Regions from separate parts of the Homo sapiens genome. Here region 1 is linked to region 2. The links are contacts of gene promoters, found by promoter capture Hi-C in human tissues and cell types (Jung and others, 2019). All regions are on one chromosome and are shown on one strand. Each heading gives the region's core, a stretch centred on a gene start or on the middle of the fragment in contact. The rest is flanking DNA. Distances are from core to core; before and after follow the strand shown. Region 1 overlaps COA1 (cytochrome c oxidase assembly factor 1). Region 2 holds the start of MRPS24 (mitochondrial ribosomal protein S24).

Region 1 (5,132 bases), core at 1,846-4,345, 160 kb after region 2:
GTAGAGACGGGGTTTCACCATGTTGGTCAGGCTGGAAGTGTTAGGATTATAGGCATGAGCCACCATGCCCAAGGAAATTTTTTTACACTGTTGGATATAACCACTTTGGTAACCTGGCAGTGTAGAAGCAGAATGTATGCATGCTCTGTGACTTTGTAATTTTACTTCCACAGAAATGGTGGGCATGTGTGCGTTGAAGTAGTGTGTATAAGAATGTTTATAGCACCACTATTTGTACTAGCTCAAAATAGTTGTGTGGGGAGATTTCCATCAACAGTATAGTAAGTAAATTATTATACATTTCAAACGTGGACTACTGTACTGTAATGAAAATGAACAAACTCAATTTACACAATATGGATGAACCTTAAAAACATGATGTTGAACAAAACCCACACACAAAAGAATCCATACTACTGTATATGATTCCACTTAAATAGATTTTAAAATCAGACAGTACAGAACTAGAATGTTAGAAGTCAAGATGATAGTTACCTTTGGAGAGGAGGGAGGGGTTAATGATTGGAAAGAAGTGGGAAGGAACCAATGGGCTACTGGCAGTCCTCAATTTCTAGGACTCTGGTGGTTACATGGGTGCTTGGTTTGTTTTAATTCATGGGGCTGAACATTTATGTTTTGTGCACTTTTCTTTGTGTGATAGACTTTTAAAAAAAAGAACCACTCAGTTTTTAATACCCAGTAAATATTCAATATGAGATCTTCCTCCTCCTCCATCTAATTTGTAAGTATTTGCATATGCCTTTTGCCCATTAATTTGTTTCAGTCTTGATGTTGTATTTATTAATTTGACTGAACTCTTTAAAGATTACTAGAGACAGTTTTAGCCAGCAAGGCTTTGCCCTTGAAAATTCACTCAGGCTGGAGTGCAGTGGCGTGATCTTGGCTCACTGCAACTTCAGCCTCCTGCAACCTCAGCCTCCTGGGTTCAAGAAATTCTCCTGCCTCAGCCTCCTGAGTAGCTAGCTGGGATTACAGGCACCTGCCACCATGCCCGGCTAATTTTTGTATTTTTAGAAAAGATAGGCATCTCCATGTTGGCCAGGCTGGTCTTGAACTCCTGATCTCAAGTGATCTGCCCACCTCAGCCTCCCAAAGTGCTGGGATTACAGGTGTGAGCCACCATGTCTGGCTTTTTCTTTTTCTTTTTTTTGAGACAAGGTCTTTCTCTGTTGCCCAGGCTGGAGTGCAGTGGTCCTATCACAGCTCACTGCAGCCTCAGCCTCCCAGACTCAAGCAATCCTCCCATCTCAGCCTCTCAAGTAGCTGGGACCTCAGGCATGCACCACCATGCCCAGCTAATTTTTCTATTTTTTTGTGGAGACAGTCTTTCACTATGTTGTCCAGGCTGATTTTAAACTCCTGGGCTCAAGTGACCTGCTGACCTTGCCCTCCTAAAGTTCTGGGATTATAGGTGTGAGCCACTGCACCTGGCTGGGTTTTTTTATTTTTTTATTTTTTTATTTTTTATTTTTTAAGATGTGTTCTTGCTTTGTTACCCAGGCTGGAGTACAGTGCCATGATCTCGGCTCACTGCAGCCTCCGCCTCCTGGCTCAAGTGATTCTCCCACCTCAGCCTCCTGAGTAGCTGGGACCACAGGTGTGTGCCACCATGTCTGGTTAATTTTTGTATTTATTTATTTATTTTTTTGTAGAGATGGGGTTTTGCCATGTTCCTCAGGCTAGTGTTGAATTGAGCTCAAGTGATCTGCCTGCCTCAGCCTCCCAAAGTACTGGGATTACAGGCGTGAGCCACTGCGCCTGGCTTGGATTCTAATATTAATATATACTTTTTTAGCTTTTGAATCAAAATGCTCTAAGTATTTGTGTAAAAGAGATTTTTTTTTTCCAGTAGTGTAGGAGATGAAAACTTTACTTTTATTCAAGTTATGAAAATTGCTTTCATGCTTTATTCTTTAACAATAATTTTGGACAAATAGCAAGATGGCTATCTAGAGGCAGCTAGGAAGAGCCTCTCCCACTGAGACCAGGCCATCAAGTAGGCCAGCACACTCTGAACAGATCTTTGGAAAGAAGGCATTGAGAGTGGACAGAGGGAGGATGCAGATACCAGGCTGAAAGGGGAGGAAGCTGGAAACCCTGCACAGGGTTGCCAAGCACCACGGTTTGTCGGTTTGTCGCTGGCCCTGAGTCGCTCCTAGGGATGGGGTGAGTGAAATTGATGTGGAGTGGCCCACTCTTGCCGCGGACCTCTGGGAGCCTACCTGTGGGAGACCCCATGATTCTCATGAACATCTGAGCTGGCAGGAAGAACTTCCTGGAGAGTTGACAGAGATGGAACTCTAGCCTGCATGGAGCCCAGAGGGTTTGTTGTGGGAACAGTTGCAGTGGAGCATGGCTGTGGATATCCATAACACCATACTCCTCTAGGCAGCTCTAGCCTTTGTTGGCTGCCAGACCTGGACAATAGAGGGCTGGCTTGCTTGTGGAATGGGACCAGTCTGATCTGAGGACCTCCCCCAACTGCCCGTTGCTGGCCTCTGTTAGGGTCCCTCCCTGCCTGGCTGTACCTGCTTGCAGCACAGCCTCAGCTTGCCAGCAGCCATCACTATAGCTTTTTGCCATAAGACCGTATCTGTCCATTGGAGTGCTTTTGCAAATGGACCCAGACCCCTGCCAATGTGCACCTGCCGGTAGCCTTCCCCTGCTGGCACGTGCCCACCTGCAGCCTTCTCCTGCCAGTGTGCATTTGCCCACAGCTTCCCCGTGCCACTCTGCAGGCATGCATGTGCGTGGGAGCCTATTGCTGCCCCACCAGAGTTCTTTTGCTGGCAGCTGCCATCGGAGTGTTGTTGCCAGTGGACCGGGAACATCTCAGCTCCTTCAGAGCAGTAGGTACTTAACCTCAAGGAGCCAGAAAATAAAGCCACAGGCCTGGTCCCAGCACCACAAGGATTAGAGCATGTAGCCCAGGAGTGCTCTGTTGAGCCTTGGCCTCCTGAAAGCATCCACAATGAAGCCAGTTGACTAAACCAAACAAATATTAGTCAAACTTTCAGGAGCATCAAAGAATATAAAAAGCAAGAAGTCCCATGCAAAAAGTAACAACTTCAAAGATTACAGGATATCAGCCCACACAGGTAAGAAAGAACCAGTGCAAGAACTCTGGCAACTCTAAAAGCCAGAGTGTTTTTTTAACCTCCAAACGACTGCACTAGCTCCCCAGCAATGGTTCTTAACCGGGCTGAAAAGACTGAAATGACAGACATAGAATTCAGAATCTGGATAGCAAGGAAGCTAGTCGACATAGAGGAGAAGGTTGAAACCCAATCCAGGGAACACAGTAAGAGTGCAAGAGTTGAAAGACCACAAAGCCATTTTAAGAAAGAACCAAACTGAACTTCCAGAAATGAAAATTTACTACAGGAATTTCAGAATGCAATTGGAAGTGTTAATAACAGAATAGATCAAGCTGAGGAAGGAATCTCAGAACTTGAAGACTGCTCCTTTGAATCAATGCAGGTAGACAAAAATGAAAAAAGAGTTAAAAAATGAACAAAACCTCCAAAAAATATGGGATTATGTAAAGAGACCAAACCTGTGACTCATTGGCATTCCTGAAAGAGATGGGGGGAGAGCAGTGACTTGGAAAACATAATTGAGGATATCTTCCGTGAAAATTTCCCCAACCTTGCTATAGAGGGACATGCAAATTTAGGAAGTTCAGAGAAGCCCTGTACCATACCCACATACTATACAAGATGACCTTCCCCAAGACACATAGTCACCAGGTTGTCCAAAGTCATCATGAGAGAAAATATCTTCAAGGCAGCTATATAGAAGGTGCAGGCCACATACTAAGGTAGCCCCATCCAGCTAATAGGAGGCCTTTCAGCAGAAACCTTACATGCCAGAAGGGATTATATTCAGCATCCTTAAAGAAAAGAAATTCCAAGCAAGAATTTTATGTCTGGCCAAACTAAGCTTTATAAGCGAAAGAAAAATAAAATCCTTTTCAGGCAAGCAAATGCTAAGAGAATTTGTTACCAGCAGACTTACAAGAGGTCCTTAAGGGAGTGCTAAACATGGAAATTAAATACTGGTACCTGCCACCACAAAAACACACTTAAGTACATAGCCCACTGACACAATAAAGCAAGTATATTATCTACATAACAACTAGCTAATAACATGACAGGATGAAATTCTCACATAGCAATATTAACCTTGAATGTAAATGACCTACTTAAAAGAGTGGCTAATTGGATAAAGAAGCAAGACCCAACTATATGCTGTTTTCAAGAGACTCATCTTGCATGCAGTGACATCCATAGGCTCAAAGTGAAGGGATGGAGAAAGACCTGTCAAGTAAGCAAACAGAAAACAAACAAAACAGAGCAGGGATTGCTATTTTTATTTCAGACAAAACCGACTTTAAACCAACAATAATAATAAAAAAGGACAAAGAAGGGCATTACATAGTGGATGATAAAAGATTCAATTCAACTAGAAGATTTAATGATCCTAAATATATATGCACCCAACACTAGAGCACCCAGATTCATAAAACAAATTCTTAGAGACCTGCAAAGAAACTTAGATGACCACACAACAATAGTGGGAGACTTCAATACCCTGCTGACAGTGTTAGAGCATCAATGCAGAAAACTAATAAAGATATTTGGGACCAAAACTTGACACTTGACCAAATGGACCTAACAGACATCTACAGAATACTTCACCCAACAAAAACAGAATATACATTCTTCTAATTTATACATGGTACCTATGCTAATATTGACCACATGCTTGGCCATAAAGCAATTCTAAAACAGACAAAAACCGAAATCATGCTAACCACACTGTCAGACCACAGTGCAATAAAAATAGAACTCAATACCAAGAAGATCCCCAAACCATACAATTACATGGAAATTAAACAGCCTGTTCCTGAATGACTTTTGGGTAAAGAATGAAATTAAGGCAGAAAAATATTTGAAACTAATGAAAACAAAGACACAACATACTAGAATCCTTGGGACACAACTAAAGGTTAAGAGGAAAGTTTATAGTGCTAAATGCCTACATCAAGAACTTAGAAAGATCTAAAATTAATGACCCAACACCACACCTAGAGGAACTCTAGAAAAACA
Region 2 (5,694 bases), core at 1,372-3,871:
TTCTTGGTTATTATGTACAGAACAAAGGCTCATGTCAGAGAAAAAGCAGTTTTACATCCCTGTCTCTGCATTAGGCTCCAGGAAGGGTGCAGATGGGTCTTTCACATGGGGTCATATGCTCCTGGCCTTTCCATGTCCAGGCAGTCCTTGAGGGCCACTTGGGAGCTGTCTGCAGCAAGCCACAGAAACCCAGGCCATTCCCTGATCCTAACATGGTCTGAACCCTCACCCCCAGGAAGTGATACTGAAAGAGCACATGCTTTGGAGCAAAAAGGCCTGCTACCATTTACTACTTCTGTAACCTCAGGTGAGTCTGTGAGCCTCCATCTTCTGCTCTGTGAAGCCTGGAAATACTGCCTCCTTTATGGAATTAATAGGAGAAGGAAAGTGCATCAAAACAACAACAAATGGAAGTTACAGAAAAATAAAACATCCCCAGTCAGATTTTTCTGCTGATTATTTAAAACAATATAACATTCATACTGATGTATAAAAGTCATTTTAAGTAATTTTAATCATGTAAAGACCGACACGTCCCCTTTCCCCCAATCACAGTATAAACAAAGCTAATAAAGGATAGATAACAAGATATTTGAACCCCAGAAATGTCTGCCACTGAAATGGCCATTGTGATGCTTGGAAAGATCTAGATCGGTTTGGAATTCCAGAGAGAGATCTCAGGCATAAGGGAGAATGGCTTGAATAGAGGAAAGCATAAATTTGATCATTTGATTGCCTACTGCTTTATGGGCTAAACTTGATTCCCAACCACAGCCTTCGTGGTGTGGCCCCTGCCCACCTTGGGCCCCAATAGGTGTTGTGCCATTGCCACCTCTGCCTCTGATCAGCCCAAGGATCTTGTTTCCCTTTCTCCTTCCCCTTTCCTCTGATTAGGGTGGTGTTGCTATGAGTTCTCACAGAACCCTCAATAGCTGGCTCATCTCCCTAACGGGATATGTGGCTATCAGGGACTCGTTAAAAACAACAACAAAACCCACAACTGCTCTCTCCCTCTGCCAGGCACATCATACTGTACTTCTCACAACCACCATTATTGTCCCCAGTTTACAGATGAGAGAAACCGAGGCTCAGAAGGTTCAGTCACTTGTCCAAATTACACAGCCAGGAAGCATTGGGTCCACGATTTGGACTCAGGCAATTCAGATGCCACATCCCATGTTCCTCACCACCTTGGAGCAAATTAATGAAACTTAACAATTATAAAATTATTGAACATTATGAAAACTTTAAAAAATAATTGTCAGTTGAAAAGGATTTCTTAGGAAATGTTGAAAGTTCTTACATTTGCAAAGTATGCATTGGAGGGCACCTCATCCCTGTTCTGTCCCTTTATTCAATATGCATAACAGTTGGGGGCCGCAGTTCCTAAAAAGTAAGAATAAAACATTTCTGGTGAAGTGGACATGGAAGACCTTGTCCTTTTATTACGGGTTTTTTGAGAACCCACCTTCATGTAATCAGAGGAATCTTGGTCATGGGAAATGGGCTGGACTGAAGTCAAGAGACTTGTGTCTTGGTCCCTCTTTCCCTCTTCTCAGTGTGGTCATGGGCAACTCATTTCCACCGTTCTTCCATTTCCCCTTCCCATGGATCATAATCCAGTCCTCCCCCTGACAGGAAACCGCAGCAGTATGCAAGTACTGTACCATTAAGGGGAATGATGTAGACCCAGAACGGCCAAAACATTGGCAATTTCACATCACTCAACCAAACACAACCCATCATTGATTAAATATTCTCTTGATCCTAATAGCTCTATAAGGTAGTACTATTATTAAGGCCCATTTTATAGATAATAGAACTGAGTCTTAACTGTACAAAGATTGTTATACATGGGTCTGACTCCAGAGCCCGTGTTTTTTCCATGACCGTGGTGACTTCTAAAATAAAATATCCCGCGTTGCTATTTTTCCGTTTGACATTAATAATTACTGGATACCAATAATAGTGGCGACGCACTGGTTTCAGCATTACAGGCCCTGCGATATTCTCACGAATCTCCTTGCCCTCCGGCCCCTTCCCCGTACTTAAAATTTTCCTTCCTCAGGGGCCAGTCACCACTGTGGTCACATGTGGCAAACCCATTCTTGCATAACTGCGTAAGTCATCCTTGAAGAATTGGGTGACGTTTTAACCAAAATATGTTTCTTCTTTATTTGTGGATAAAAGTCTGGAGGGTTTTTCTGTTTTGTTTTTCTACGAATATTATTTGGAGGCATAACTAGGACCTGGGGAAACGCTTGGCTCCTCTTCGAGCCCCGAGGGTGCAGGTTGGGCAGGGCGGGCTCCGGTGGGCCGCACACCCATCACCCGTACTAGCGTGAGGTTGTCGAAGAGAAAATCTCACGTTTCGCATCCTCAAATTTCCGGATCTGAAACCCTATGCAAGCAGCAACCGCGGGAGAGCGAACAGCGGCGGGATGAGCATTCACAAGGCTGAGCATTCACAGGGCTGCGGGGAAGGCGGGAGTAACAGCTAGCAGCATACCGCGGCCCCGCCCCGCAGAGGCCCTGCCCCGCCCCCGCCAGAGTACAGAGTACGAGCTCCGACTTGGTCTCGTCCGCGGTCGTCCCCACCCCTCAGCGCGCTGTGGTACGTCCCGCGCTCCGCTTGGCCCAAGATGGCGGCCTCCGTGTGCAGCGGGTTGCTGGGGCCACGGGTGAGTGGGGCGACTCGGCAGGTCCCTGCGAGTCGGAGGTGGGGTCCCTAGTTTCCGCCTCACGCGCCCTCCCTCCACAGGTGCTGTCCTGGAGCCGAGAGCTGCCTTGCGCTTGGCGCGCCCTGCACACCTCCCCGGTCTGCGCCAAGGTGAGCACCGCCGGGGCAGGGGCCTGGGGGCCTGGGGGCCGGGGGGCCGGGGGCCGGGGAAGCCGTGCGGGCTGAAGGGGGCGTGTCGCTGGGGTCCGAGGCGGGGCTAGGGTCGGGGCTTAGGGATCAGGGGATTGGGGCCGGGGAACAGTGCCAGCTGACTGGGGGGACATGGCGCGAAGTAGGGGTCTGGATCGGGGATCTCGTGGAGTCACGGCCCCTTTTGCTCCTAGAACCGGGCGGCCCGAGTACGCGTAAGCAAGGGGGACAAGCCGGTGACCTACGAGGAGGCACACGCGCCGCACTACATCGCCCACCGTAAAGGCTGGCTGTCGCTGCACACAGGTGAGCGGACCCCAGGCCTCCAAAAGGAGCACTCAATCCGACTGTCATGTAAACAAAATGAACACGTGTCACAGGTTTTCTTTAACTCAGGAAATAATGCTAGGGTCAGAAATCTATGAAACCAACTCAAGGGAGACATAAAAAAGCAGAGATATATATAGATCAGGATGTTGAAACAAATTTGAAGATGGATGCAAAACTGACTTTTTCCATGGCAGGCAGGGACTCAATTGATCCTCCACTGAACAGAAATTATTTGCATGTCTACAGACAAGAATTATTTTGCATTCCTGTCAGTTATCTGTAATTTACAGAGCTGTAAAATAGCTCAGAGTCAAGGAAAGGAGTGAAACCGTTGCAGAATCTGATAACCCTGAACAGTGTGCTCTAAGGAATGCAGTTTTCCACTAAAGCACAAATTTTTCTCTGTAAATATATACAGACAACCCTCGTTATTCATGAATTCCATATTTTCAGATTCTTCTACTGACTAAAATTTATTTGTAAGCCCCAAATCAACACTCTGGGCACTCTCAAGGTCACTCTGAGATGTGGGTGGAGCTGCCACCCCAGGTGCATGTCCCGAGCTGAGGTCGACAAGGCTCTGCCTAGTTTCAGCTCTCGTACTGTAAAAGGTGTCCTTTTTATGGTCTAGAATCTTTTTTTTTTAATTTGCATTTTCGTGCTTTTTGTTAGTGATTTTGCTGTTTAAAATGGCCTTGCAATGCTGAAGTGCTATCTAGTGTTCCTAAGCGGGAGAAGGCTGTGACGTGCCTTAGGGAGAACATACATGTATTAGAGAATCTTTCTTCAGTCATGAGTTGCTCTTGGCCCTGAATTCAATGTTAGTGAATCTACCATATATATTAAACAAGGTGTCTTTAAACAGAAACACAAAGGAAACTAGGTTATGTATTGATTTGTTAACAAAAATACGGTGCCCAGAGGCTGAAAGGAATCTAACCCTGTATTTCACCTAGGAGCAATGGTTCAGTATTCACTAAGTCAGTGTTGGCAGTGACTTTATAGAATATAACTATTGTGAACAATTGATAACCAACTGTGCTTTGTTTAGTACAGGGGTTCTTGGATGTTTGAGATGCATCTAGAGAACTTACTTAAAATACAGATGCTTGCCTGGCACGGTGGCTCACGCCTGTAATCCCAGCACTTTGGGAGGCCGAGGAGGGTGGATCCTGAGGTCAGGAGTTCAATACCAACCTGGCCAAGATGGTGAAACCCCATCTCTACTAAAAATACAAAAAAATTAGCTGGGCGTAGTGGCGGGCGCCTGCAATCCCAGCTATTCAGGAGGCTGAGGCAGAGAATTGTTTGAACCCAAGAGGCGGAGGTTGCAGTGAGCCGAGATCACGCCACTGCACTCCAGCCTGGACGACAGAGTGAGACTCCATCTCAAAAAAAAAAAAAAAAAAAAAAAAAAAGAGAGAGAGATGCTTGTCTCCCACTCTTTCAGGTTCTGGTCTGAGGTTTGGATGTAGGTGTGCAGACTCTTAGTGGACATTGTAAGGGCTGCAGGGGATCCACAGTTCACACTGAGGAACCCACTGGTGGAAGCCCTGGGCCTAGCTCATGTCCCTAATCTCAAAAATAGCTGGTAGCCTCATCTTTCTGGCCCATGGGATGACCAGTGTTTTTATAAGGCAGCCAAGAAAGCAGGAAAGGGGCTAGATGTGGTGGCATCATCTTGAGTTTTGTACCCTGACTCAGGCCTCCATCTTCCTTTTTGTAAAATAAGGATAATGATAATACCTACTAAACTGAATTGGCTTGGGAATTAATGACATAACATACTTTGAACTTTAAAGTGTTATTTTTCTTATTCCATTAGCAGAAGAAAAGAGAAGAGGCTGGGGGTGAAGGGTGGGATTGTGCTCAGCGCTTTTGGATGTTGACTCTGGAGTTATGGCAGGGCCCTGGGGCAATGAGGCTGATTCTTCTATTATGCCCTTCCCTCTTCAGGTAACCTGGATGGAGAGGACCATGCCGCAGAGCGAACGGTGGAGGATGTTTTCCTTCGCAAGTTCATGTGGGGTACCTTCCCAGGCTGCCTGGCTGACCAGCTGGTTTTAAAGCGCCGGGGTAACCAGTTGGAGATCTGTGCCGTGGTCCTGAGGCAGTTGTCTCCACACAAGTACTACTTCCTCGTGGGCTACAGTGAAACTTTGCTGTCCTACTTTTACAAATGTCCTGTGCGACTCCACCTCCAAACTGTGCCCTCAAAGGTTGTGTATAAGTACCTCTAGAACAATCCCCTTTTTTCCATCAAGCTGTAGCCTGCAGAGAATGGAAACGTGGGAAAGGAATGGTATGTGGGGGAAATGCATCCCCTCAGAGGACTGAGGCATAGTCTCTCATCTGCTATTGAATAAAGACCTTCTATCTTGTCTTGCCTCTCTGTTTTTACTCTTGGATGAGGGAACTAGAGTAGCGTTTCTTTGACGATGCTCCAGGGTTTGCAGGAAGGCTGACGCCAGTTGTTTGAAGTTTAATTCATAGCT

The links. Contacts are between HindIII fragments. The study calls those that stand out against the background at their distance.
Region 1: a contact is called between a fragment that was not itself captured here and the fragment with the promoter of MRPS24 in region 2, in 1 of the 25 tissues and cell types used here (liver).

What each region holds. Positions count from the first base shown.
Region 1 is chr7:43,702,909-43,708,040 of GRCh38, reverse strand. The region is part of intron 1 of COA1 (cytochrome c oxidase assembly factor 1); the gene reads left to right. Among named protein-coding and RNA genes, the nearest start is that of COA1, 24 kb to the left of the region's middle. The HindIII fragment of the contact is 9,314 bases long and covers 1-5,132 here.
Region 2 is chr7:43,866,444-43,872,137 of GRCh38, reverse strand. MRPS24 (mitochondrial ribosomal protein S24) reads left to right here and starts at 2,621. Exons shown (of 4, transcript NM_032014.3): 1 at 2,621-2,681; 2 at 2,762-2,830; 3 at 3,064-3,175; 4 at 5,156-5,580. The coding sequence starts at 2,643. The coding sequence ends at 5,439. URGCP-MRPS24 (URGCP-MRPS24 readthrough) reads left to right here. Exons shown (of 7, transcript NM_001204871.2): 5 at 2,762-2,830; 6 at 3,064-3,175; 7 at 5,156-5,580. The coding sequence ends at 3,152. LOC124901620 (a long non-coding RNA gene) reads right to left here and starts at 2,492. Exons shown (of 2, transcript XR_007060296.1): 1 at 1,304-2,492; 2 at 496-1,190. RefSeq lists silencers at 47-222, 2,490-2,549, 2,850-2,909 and an enhancer at 2,140-2,259. The HindIII fragment of the contact is 19,139 bases long and covers 1-5,694 here.